Linked DNA regions of Homo sapiens: regions 1 and 3 are each linked to region 2. Evidence: promoter capture Hi-C in 16 types of primary human blood cells and fetal thymus (Javierre and others, 2016). All regions are on one chromosome and are shown on one strand. Each heading gives the region's core, a stretch centred on a gene start or on the middle of the fragment in contact. The rest is flanking DNA. Distances are from core to core; before and after follow the strand shown.

What was found. Contacts are between HindIII fragments. The CHiCAGO score rates a contact against its expected background, and 5 or more counts as called.
Region 1: a fragment that was not itself captured here is called in contact with the fragment with the promoter of MITD1 in region 2 in 1 of 17 cell types (naive CD4 T cells); the score reaches 6.9 in naive CD4 T cells.
Region 3: a contact is called between a fragment that was not itself captured here and the fragment with the promoter of MITD1 in region 2, in 6 of 17 cell types (naive CD4 T cells, naive CD8 T cells, fetal thymus and 3 more). The highest score is 6.6, in naive CD4 T cells.

The regions. Positions count from the first base shown.
Region 1 is chr2:98,568,837-98,572,661 of GRCh38, reverse strand. All of the region lies in intron 22 of INPP4A (inositol polyphosphate-4-phosphatase type I A), which reads right to left. Among named protein-coding and RNA genes, the nearest start is that of COA5, 38 kb to the left of the region's middle. The HindIII fragment of the contact is 4,303 bases long and covers 1-3,825 here.
Region 2 is chr2:99,179,708-99,183,642 of GRCh38, reverse strand. MITD1 (microtubule interacting and trafficking domain containing 1) reads left to right here and starts at 2,585. Exons shown (of 7, transcript NM_138798.3): 1 at 2,585-2,812. The coding sequence starts at 2,662. MRPL30 (mitochondrial ribosomal protein L30) reads right to left here and starts at 2,459. Exons shown (of 6, transcript NM_145212.4): 1 at 2,394-2,459. RefSeq lists a silencer at 2,078-2,250 and enhancers at 2,468-2,517, 2,538-2,767, 2,778-2,917. The HindIII fragment of the contact is 16,860 bases long and covers 1-3,080 here.
Region 3 is chr2:98,657,839-98,661,884 of GRCh38, reverse strand. MGAT4A (alpha-1,3-mannosyl-glycoprotein 4-beta-N-acetylglucosaminyltransferase A) reads left to right here. Exons shown (of 16, transcript NM_012214.3): 6 at 3,621-3,667. Among named protein-coding and RNA genes, the nearest start is that of UNC50, 51 kb to the right of the region's middle. The HindIII fragment of the contact is 5,183 bases long and covers 1-4,046 here.

The DNA.
Region 1 (3,825 bases), core at 433-2,932, 610 kb after region 2:
GCTGCTGGTGTGGTGAGCACTTAATTTCTTTTACTGCCACCTTCAAAGGACATTTCCTTCATCTCCCTTCAGTTCTTCTGAGGGGCTGGGAATGGCCACCGAATCACCTACAGGACTCCTTGTAAATACCCATGCCTCCCGCACCCCTCCCAGATGAGGGAGTTAGGAGGGAGTGAGAGGGATCCAGCTGGTCGTCAAAACTTCCCGAGGGTAGAAGAAACTGGGGCAGTGGGTCTGAGCCATTGAGCAGGCCTGGAAACCTTGGGAGGGATCAGGAAAGTGCAGCCTCCTCCAGGGGGCCCTTGGCCCATGCCAGGAGAACACATCTCTGCGGGACCCAGAGAAGCCCCTGCTCCCACATCCTAACAGCTCCTCCTCCACTCTGGCAGTCTCTAGGCCCTTCCAGGACCCCTTGGGCCTGAAGATCCATCAGGTCACCTTACCAAGAAACCCCAGACAAAACTGAGGAAAAATCAACCACTCCTGGAAAGGTACTCTGGGATTTTCAAACACTGGGATTATCAGAGACAAAGAGAAGAGCCTCAAGGTCATGGCTAAGGAAAACAGCCACAGCGCCGGAATCCCCGAAGCCAAACCAAGTACATGGCAGCACTTGGGATCTAACTGCACACCTGGTTTCCACCACACAGCCTCGCCCTGGCGTACACAGGTCCTGTGCTAATTACTTCACGTTGCTGCTGAGTGCTCCACACCACGCCGGTCAGGGGACAGGGCAGAGACAGAAAGATGGAAAGGTGGCATCAGCTGAGACGGAAGCTGTGGGAGCCCAGAGGAGGGGAGCTTAGCCAGGTCAGGATATTTGCCCTCTGGCATAGACAGCACCATCTCACCTCCCAAGATGCACTTTGGCTTCTCGCTGGTTGCCCCTGCAGCCCCTGCTTTAATGAATACCTGTCCACTGAGGAACCACACAAAGTTTGGGGGTATTCAGCTGGTGGGCTCCATCTCCTCAGCCTCAGAGACCAGCCATCCTGCTGAGGGGAGGGGTACCTGGCTCACATCTGCCCCAGCTTCCTGGGTCATGGTCCAGTCGACTAGTTCCTGCCTGCGTGGTCCAGCCTGGCTGCTCTGCTTCCGGAGGCCTCGCCCATCCTGGGCCTTCACTGCCCATTGTAACAGCTCCCCGAGCCCTGGAGACTGCCTGCCCTCTAAGGTGCTAGGCACAAATTCCCCCTTCCTACTTACTGCAGCCGCTCACCACTCCCACTCCTCCAGGCCTCAGCACGCGCCCCCTACTCCCTCCCTGCTCACCTTCGTGGCTCCTTGGCTGGCCCTGCCGGTGGGCCCATCCTCTCCCCTACAGCAGTCAGAAGATGCTGCCTGGGCTTGGCCCAGCTCCTGGGGAGACTTGCCCTCCATGCCTCAGTTTCCTCACCTGCCAAGTGGGTGTGAAACCGGTGCCCATTTCCCAGGGCTGCTGTGGGGATCAGATTAGAGAATCCACATAAAGTGGATAGTAGGGGGCCCAGCTTGTGGCGAGCATGTGACAAATCTGCTGTTTGAACTCCGGTCCCTGCTAAAGAGCATGAGGACACCTTCTTAACAGTTCTGACGTCCATGGCACTGATGGCCTTCAGCTGCCAAGTCCTCGCAGGACCTTGACTTCATGCTATGTTTACCACCCTGGCTGTGGCACACAGGGACCACCTGGGGAGTTTCTGAAACCCTAATGCCCAGGTCCTGCCCACCACACTCTGGGGTGGGGCCCAGGCATCTGTATTTTTCCAGGCTCTCTGGCTCCAACTGCATCTCTGCCAGTCACCTCCACTCCCCTCAAGGCCCCGGTTCTGTGCTCACCTCTCTCATGTTGAGCAGGACAAGAACACCTGTTTTACTGGGGAGACTGAGGCTGCCCAACCTGAGCATATTTCCTCCATTCATGTCCCTACCTTCTCTCCTCCCTCCTTCCCTCCCTGCAAGGGCACCCTCCGCCTGCCCACTCCAGGGCCTGGTCTGTGACTCTGGTGTCCTCTTGCATCTTCCAGCCCTGTGTGTTCTCCTTCCCTCGGACCTTTGAGCACTCCCATGGCCCCTGCAGCTCCAGGGTGTGTCCCACCTGCCCACAGCCCCATCCCTCAAGTTGCTGACAGTCTTTGGGACAAAGTGGTCCATTCCAGGGCAGCACCATTTCATCACCCCTTGATCCCTGGCCCAGCCCTCACCACAGTGAGACTGTATGGGAGAGATCACCAGCAGCTCCTTGTCCACACATCCAGTGTCCGGCAGCGCCCCACACCCTCCTGGCTCCTGCCTTCTTCCTGCTAGCCTGTGATGCTCTCTCTCGCCTTCTGTTGAGTCCCTTCTTCCTCGCTGTCCCCCAGAGCAGGGGCCCCTCCAGATGCTGTTCCAGCCCCTTCTCGTCTTGTCACTCAGTGGCCTCAACCACCAAAGGGCTCTGCTCTGTGGCTCCACATCTGCACTCCCCACAAGTCATTTGCCCATGTCATCAGCTCAGCTGGGGCCAGTGCTGCACTCGCTGTCGGTCCCCTGTAGCCCTGCGCCTCTCTCATCAGCGGGACGGCCCCAGCTGTTGCCGGCAACTCCAGCGTCCTTGCCCAGAGCCAGGTCTGTCAGCTCTCCCAGCAGACACAGCCCTCACCTCCCCAGCGCCAGCTGCACGTGGCCGCTGAGGAGTGCATCCTCAGCCCAAACCCCCCTAACGCCTCATCCCTCTCTCCACGCTCACTGTCACTACCAGGCTGGAGTCAGAGTGAAACAACATCTCATCTGAAGTGTCACAGCCTCACTCTGGCCATCAGCGGCTTGCCTCCCCTCTTCCAATCCAACCGCACACTCTTGCTAGATGAACCTGTGAAGAGGCGTCTTTTTTCCCACTGCTTCCCTGCTGAAGCCACGACTTCTTGGCCCAGCCCCGGAGTGTTCTGCATCACTCTCTCCTAGCAGGACGGCTTCAGCCACAATCCAAGCACATGGGCTTCAGAGCCAGGCACCCCTTTCTTCATCTGGACATGGATCCTATCACCGACCCATAGGGCTGTTGTGGATTCAGCGTGGAAACGTATGTAGAGCCCAGCCCAGTGTCTGGCACATCCGTGACCTGTGAAGGTTCACCAGCAGTACTGTTTGACTATCTCTAAACTCTAAGGTCTACCGTACCGTCCAACAGGATGCAGATGAAGCCTGCCCAATGCAAAGCCCAGCCGATGTGGGTTCCCTCTTTGGAAACCCCCATCAGAGGACACTAGTGTAACACAGAGGGGATGATACCTTCTGACGCGTGGCGCCCCCTAGTGGCTGTGGCAGCGCCTGCACAGAGAGGCCGGCACTCTGGGACCAGCTTTCCCTCCAAGGTAGGGTCCACCCCTCATTCGCCATCGGATCCTCTAGCACTTTACACACAGCAGGTCCTCAGGGAATATTCACTGGGTTGAACTCAAGAGGGAATTCTCGTAGACAGTGCTGTGCAGCTCTCGGTTCCTCCCTTAGTTCTGTGGCTGCAGAGCCCTAGCTGCAGCATCTTCACTGCAGGACACGCAGAGAGATTACTGTCACCATCTCCACTGCCTCCAGGAGATGCCGAGATGGGGCCACCTTGCTCCCAAACACCCAGCAATGTTGGCCCCGCATCTTCCTCTCTAAGCACCACAAAGGGAAGTGAGTGGGCCGCTCACCTGGCCGAGGGTGGGTCCTGCCTCTGTGATTCCCCCAAGTCCTACCAGGAGGTGCACAATGCATGCCACCAAACACATCTTGTGTCAGTGACTACGACAGCATGGGAAGGAGCCATGTCACATAGGCTAGTAGAGAATCGACAGCAAAGAGATGAATGAGGGCCACAGCCAA
Region 2 (3,935 bases), core at 1,336-3,835:
ATTTATGAAAAAATTAAAACCTCCAATGCTTGTCCATTTTGATCACAGTGAAAATCAATTTTTTTTTTTTTTTTGAGACAGAGTCTCGCTTTGTCACCCAGGCTGGAGTGCAGTGGCCCAATCTTGGCTCACTGCAACCTCCGCCTCCTGGGTTCAACCGATTATCCTGCCTCAGCCTGCTGAGTAGCTGGGATCAGAGGCACCTGCCACCACGTCCAGCTAATTTTTGTATTTTTAGTGGAGACGGGGTTTCACCATGTTGGCTAGGCTGCTCTTGAACTCCTGACCTCAGGTGATCCGCCCGCCTGGGCTCCCAAAGTGCTGGGGTTACAAGCATGGGCCACCACCCCCAACTCTAATTCTTAACCCTCACCCTCTCATGTCTTTGTAGTACAGCACTACCAACCTTCCCCACCTCCAGGACTCCATCTCCAATTACTCTCTTGCTCAATCACCAGACATGCTGCCCCCCTTGTTTGATCTAGAACTAGTCAAGCAGGCATGCTCCCTTTGACTGACCATTCCCTCTCCTGGAATGATCCTGATATTTACATGGCTAATTTCCTTATCTTTTTCAATTTTTGGGTCAAATCTCACCTTTTCAATGAGGTCAACCCAGATCACATCATTTAACATTTTCACCCATACCCCAACTGTCAACACTCCCAATTCCTCTTCACTGCTTTCTATCGTGCTTATCTTCTAACGTAACTTAATTATCTGTTAGGTTTTGTTGTTTAGTGCATGTACATTCAATAGCACGCTAATTCCATAGGAAAAGGGTTTTTAGATTTTGTTGTTTTGGGTCTGTTATATTCATAGAAGTATCCCAAACATCTGTGTAAAGCGGTATCTGCCCTATAGCAGACATATAATATATTTTTGCAGAATAACTGAAGTTTAAATATTTACAGACTTCTGAAGGTGTGATAGTCAAAAGTTACAAGTTTTTAGAGACAGAGTCTCGCTATGTTTCTGGTATTGAACTCAGCCTCAAGCAATCCTCAATTTTCCCAGTAATTGGAGCTAGGTGTGTGTCACCACGTTTGACTCAAAGAATACGTTTATTTTATCTTATTTATTTTTTTGAGACGGAGTCTCGCTCTGTCGCCCAGGCTGGAGTGCAGTGGCACGATCTGGGTTCACTGCAAGCTCCGCCTCCCGGGTTCACGCCATTCTCCTGCCTCGGCCTCCCCAGTAGCTGGGACTACAGGCGCCCGCCCGGACGCCCGGCTAATTTTTTGTATTTTTAGTAGAGACGGGGTTTCACCGTGTTAGCCAGGATGGTCTCGATCTCCTGACCTCGTGATCCTCCCGCCTCGGCCTCCGAAAGTGCTGAGATTACAGGCGTGAGCCACCACGCCCGGCAAGGAATACGTTTTAATAAAGTAAAAGTTACTGTTAATAATTAGGCACGTAACTCCTGGACCCTGAAACAATTACGCTGTCTTCTGTAAAACAGGAAAATATCAGGCATCACAGGAGAAGTATGATCCCATTTCTATTTTTTTAAATGTCTGTGAACGTGTGTAATCACAGAAAAACTCTGGAAGGTTGTCAGAAAAACGTTAACATACCCCTGGGGGTATGAAAAAAGGCGTTTTTCCTCCCCCTTCTCCCCCCCAGCGACCGATAGTTCTTTTGTCTTTTTACAATGAGCATGCATGCAACAGGAATGTTAAAAATCGATTTCTTTTTCTAAACCGACAATGTATACAATTATTAAAGGGGGAAAAACACTTCTGAAATGCAAAACATGGAATCACTCTTGCAGAGATACCAGAGATCTCTGAAAGCTGGAAGCGTGTCTCTTCTCTGAACTCCTAGTGCCTAACAAGCAGTAGGCAGCCCTCATTACTGCCTCTTGGCAAAAAGGGCAGAACAAACAGCTTTTGGTAGGTCTCGATCAAAATGGTAACAAATCACAGTTTTAATAAAATGGCAAATATTCTAACTGCCAACTCTTGGATGTTTGCATTATAAAATGAAGCAATACAAAGATAAAGGCAATTTTCTGTCTTCATTAAAAAAAAAAAAAAGCAACCTTAATACCCAGTGGCAACCCTAAGTTATGAATAAAGCAGCAGCACAGAAAATGCTGCTTGGGTTCCCTTTCCCAAGCTGTCCAGCCTCGGCGGCTCCGTTCTTGAGCTCCAAGAGTCTGGGCACAAAAAGCCGCGTGGCCCTGGATCCTGCAAATTGGGAAACGGGGGGATCCTGCAGGCCAATGGCCTTACGGGAGCCAATGTGACGGGATCAGGGGCAGACCCATTTAGGTTGCCGTAACCGGCCAATTCAGTACGCAATAGGGAAAATCAATTAGGATCTGCAGAGGGTTCCCGGATACACCTTGCGAAGAATGCCGCACTCTCCGCCACTCATTCCCCACTCACCGGCACCCGCTAAACCTTCAGCCTGAAATTTTCCTCCGAAGGGAAGCAGAGCAGAGGAAGAACTACCAAGTGCTACACTCAAAGCCTGCCGTCGCAGTGAGCGCGACCTCCAAACTGAGGCATTTTTGTTCCGGCGAAATCCCTCCCACTCAGGAAAGTCCCTAGAAAGAGAGCGCAGGCGCCTGGGTATCACATGACCACTTCCCGGAAGCGCAGCAGACCCGCTCAACTTCATCCTGGGTTGAGGCGGAGGAGAACTTCCAGAATTATGGCGAAGTCCGGGCTGAGGCAGGACCCGCAGAGCACAGCTGCAGCCACTGTGCTAAAGCGGGCAGTAGAACTAGATTCGGAGTCGCGGTATCCGCAGGCTCTGGTGTGTTACCAAGAGGGGATTGATCTGCTCCTGCAGGTTCTGAAAGGTGAGCAATGAGCCAAGGCGGGGAGGACCTGAGGAAAAGGAGCTGGTTCCTGCTGTGTCTGGGGTGAAGTGAAAGAGTTAAAAATGATTTTTCCACACCACGAAGAAGCAGTTAAATACAGAAGGTGGGATATTCTATAGGACAACTGGGCCGCTTTCTTTTAGATCTTTAATAGATTGATGTTACCTAGAAAAGGTGGGGAGGCTACTAGTCTAGATTTTAAAAGACTTAAGAGATATAAGATATAACGCAATGTAATATATAAGCTTTGATAGGACCTGGGTTTGTACGAACTTTAAAAGACATTTTTGGATCTATTAGAAAAGTTTGAATATAGATTGGGGGGCATTAAAATTATTTTCTTAGGCAATATGATTTTTTTTCCAAAACTTTCCTTAATTTTTAGAGATGCAGACCAAAGTGTTTTAGAAAGAGATGCTATGATGTCTTTAGTTAATTTTCCTTAAGCAAAAATTTCTTAAAAATCGAAGCTCTATTTGAGCAAAAATGCTAATTTTAAAAATTTCGGTGATGGGTAATAAGGGTGTTTATTATACGATTATTTTTAATTTTCTGTTTAAACATTTGCATTTAAAGCAAGCCAAAGTAAAATTATGTAGCGGTAGAAGAAGAAAAGTTTTTCTTAAACGGATGAGGTTCGGTGTGAGAAATGCGCAGGGTTGTGGAGGAGACAAGTGAGACTTTTCGTATTATTCAATGTTGAGAAATACCCAAATATTCCTTAACACCCAGCACAACCCTGGCTCACAGTAGACACTCAATATTTATGTATTAAATTGATAAGATCAGCTCCTGCTCCCCAACCCCCGACACTCCCGGTCTGGACTAAGCTCCCTCTGTTCTTTCTAGTTTAAGCTTCTTATAATTAAAGTGTTACAGAAGCTTTGGGGCAGCAGAGGGGAGCCCTTTATGGTTTGGTGCTTTGGTCAGAACTACAAACTCTACCGGCCGGGCGCGGTGGCTCACTCCTGTAATCCCAGCACTTTTTTGGGAGGCCGAGGCAGGTGGATCATGAGGTCAAGAGATCGAGACCATCCTGGCCAACATGGTGAAACCCCGTCTCTACTGAAAATACAAAAATTAGCCGGGCATGGTGGCACGC
Region 3 (4,046 bases), core at 300-2,799, 520 kb after region 2:
GCCTTTTTAAAAAGGATCCTGCTGTCTGCTTTGGTAAGGGCAAAAGAAAGGAGACTACTTAGAAAGCTGTTGCCATAATCGAGGTGAGGCTTGGACTGGGAGACTGTTCATGGAGGTGATCAGAGATGGGTAAATTATGAACATGTTTTTAACTAAATGGGTTCTAATAAAAAATGAGAACCATTGCTATAGCATCAACATGCTATTAAGGACAAAGCTCCAATTAATGAACTTAAAATAGCCCTTTTAATGTTTTCTGTTTAGTTTTGTACATTTGAATAGAAATATGTATCAAATTTAGGCTTAAATGTCAAGTCTTCAGAGAGATTTTCTCTGAATGTAATGTTTAAGTAGGCCATCTCTGTTTTTCCTCTATTATTGCATTCTATTTTTATAACACAATATTCAGTTATATATACACATACATATGTGTACATATTTTTGTTTGTTTGCTTATGAACTGCTTCTCTCACCAGTTTTAAGTTCTACAAACAGAGATCTTCTTTATTTACCAACCTATACTCAGAGCTTGATAATATGGATACAGTGGATCCATGTATGTATCCAGTATGGATACAGTGTATATATCCATCCGTTTCTTTTCTCCACATTCTTCCTAATACTTGTTATCTTTTGTCTTTTTGACAGTTAGCCATCCTGACAGATGTGATGATATCTGATTGTGGTTTTAATTTGCATTTCCCTAATGATTAGCAGTGTTGAGGATTTTTCGTATATCTGTTGGCCATTTGTATGTCATCTTTTGGGAAATGTCTGTTCAGGTCCTTTGCCTATTTTTTCAGTGTTTTTTCTTACTCTTGAGCTGTTTGAGTTCCTTATATATTTTGGATATTAACTGTTTATCAGATGTGCAGCATGCAGATATTTTCTCCTAACCCATAGGTTGTCAGGCATGCTGTTAATTATTTCCTTTGCCATGTAGAAGAGTTTTAGTTAGATGTGATCCTATTTGTCTATTTTTGTTCTTGTTGCCTGAGCTTTTGGGGTCATATCCAAAAAACCATTGCCCAGGCCAATGTCGTGTAGTTTTTCCCTTATGTTTTCTTCTGGTAGTTTTAGAGTCTTCTTTTGTTTTCAATCCATTTTGAGTTTATTTGTATATTTCACGTGAGTTGAAGTTCCACTTTCATTCATCTGTATGTGGATATCCAGTTTTCTCAGCACCATTTACTAAAGAAACTTTTTTCATTGAGTGTTCTTGGCACCTTTGCTGAAAATCAATTGACCATACATACATGAGTTCATTTCTAGGCTCTATATTCTGTTCCATTGGCCAGTGTGTCTGTTTTTTAAAAATCAATACCATACTGTTTACATTATTATAGCTTCATAGTATAGTTTGAAATAATAAAGTGTGTTGCCTCCAGCTTTATTGTTTTTCCTCATGATTACCTTGGCTATTTGTTGTGTGTGTGTGTGTGTGTGTGTGTGTGTGTGTGTGTGTGCGCGTGCGTGTGTGTGTGTGTGTGTGGTTATATATGAATTTTAGGATTTTTTTCCCATTTCTGAGAAAAATGTCATTAAATTTTTTGATAGGGATTACATTGAATCTGTAGATCACTTTGGGTAATATGGACATTTAAATGATATTAATTCTTCCAATCCATGAGCAAAGATATCTATTTATTTGTGTGTTCTTCAAATTATTTCATCAACATTTTATAATTTTTGGTGTCTAGTTCTTTCACTTCCTTGGTTAAATTTTTTCCTAAGTATTTTTTTGGTAGCTATTTTAAATGGGATTGTTCTCTTGATTTCTTTTTCAGATAGTTCATTGTTAGTATGTAGAAATGCTACCGATGTTTGTATATTGTTTTCCAGAAAGCCTGTTATAAAAACTTTTTATAATTTGATGGTTTTGCAATTTCCAGGATTAAGCTATACCTTTTTTGTTTGTTTTTCTCAAGTATTAAGTGCTTTGACAGTCTTTATAACATAGATTATATTTTATATATCATTGAGTCTTTTAACAATTGAGCATTTTTATAAGTTATCGCTGTATTTAAAATTGATAGGTAGGTGTATTAGTCCATTTTTATGCTGCTGATAAAGACATACCCAAGACTGGGTAATTTATAAAGAAAAATGGACTCACAGTTCCACATGGCTGGAAAGGCCTCACAATCATGGCAGAAGGCGAAAGGCATGTCTTACATGGCAACAGACAAGAGAGAAAATGAGAATCAAGTGAAAGGGGGAAACCCCTTATAAAACCATGAGATCTTATAAGCCTTATTCACTATCACAAGAACAGTATGGGGGAAACTGCCCCCATGATTCAGTTATCTCCACAGGGTCCCTCCCAGAACACATGGGAATTATGGGAGCTACAATTCGAGATGAGACTTGGGTGGGGACACGCCAAACCATATCAATAGGGCTCTGGCTGGCTCAAAAATGTGGCTATGGCCCTGTAACCCAGCCTGCCATGTCCCTGGCCTGGTTGTCCCTTGGGCTTCCTGGGGTCCTTGAAGGGGCAAGGATCTGGAGTTAGGAGGAGGATGATGTCTGGACACACACACCGGAGAAATAATGCTCATAATTATTTACATTTGCCCATCACCTGTGCTCCACCCTGTTTGTCAGTCCTTACAGCTAGCCTAGAAAGTGGTTTCACTTTGACCCAATTTCACGGTCTTTGACATAGCATCAGAGACAGACTCCGTTTACCTCTTAGAGGAGAAAAGCTAATGATGTTTATCTCTGTTAGACCCCTGGGAGCCAGAGCCCTGGAACAAGCCAATTCTTACTGTTGAACGTCACCTCTTCCAGGCATCCTCTTCTGATGCTTCTACCCTCCATGCTGGGTTAGATCTGAACTTGGTTGAAAATGTCTGTTTAAAACATGCCTGCCATGCTTAGACTTGTTCACTGCAGTGCAGCCTGGCCTAGAGTAGGCATTCAGTAAATGTTTGTGAAATGTGAATATGTGATTCATTAAATCAATAAAGAAAATAAAGAAAAATTAATAAGAAGTATTAGAATTTTGACTTGTTCATAATTTAAAAATATGCAGATCTGATAAATGTTTATTTCTAACTGATTGAAGTGCTCTTGATTCAGTTCTCAGTGTCAGTGTAATATTAATATGGTGTAATAATAGCAGTTTTTTATTACATAGTTTTATCATTTAATCTCATAATCTGTAAGGTATTTCCTTTTTTTCATAGAATAGGTTGAAACTCAGAGAAATGACTTTAGAGTATGCAGTTCAGTAGCTACAGAGGCAAACCTTGAACCTAGGTTTTATGATTCCAAGTAGAAAAATCTTTCTTCATATCGTGCAGCATCTGTCACTAATGCTATTCACAATAGTTTGGATGTTTTGATAGAAGTAGTTTTTGTGTTCAGTTTTCCTAGTGAATGCAACACAGACAATTAAAATAATAAAAACTTCAATATCTGCTTATTAGCAAGTGCTCAGTGACATTCAGTAGTACAATAGAACAATACAGAAATGCAAATTTAATAAATTGTCTAAAAATTTAATGTATGGTTTTAATGAATGTTTTTATCATTCATTTAATTTCGAGTTCAGTATTAACAGTTAAATAAAAATATAAAAACTTGAATATAGATACATTTTTTTTCTTTCCCAGACAGATATTGATTATGTACATGGTGTTGTAGCCAACCTGGAGAAAGAGTAAGTTCTTCTTAATTATAAACATACAAATATTTTGGTTACTATTATCTCTTGGGTTTCTTGCTAAAAGAAAATGCCTTCCTTGATAGTTCATTTCTCTGTGGAGTTCATTGTTTATTAGATCACCTCTGATTGGTATTTGATATTGTCCCAAAGTAGGTGCATATATATCTAGTTATGTGATGGGATAAATTGGTTTATTTCATTATAGAAAAGACTTGAATGTCCTATGTATGTAACACTATTAAATAACAGTCTTTAATCTTGAAGACAGTGAATACAGAGAGAGTCATATGAGATTAAATCTTTCACACTGTATTTACCAGGCAAAATCTTCCTGCTCTCAGGGTAGATATTTAACGTAGTAATTTCAGACCTC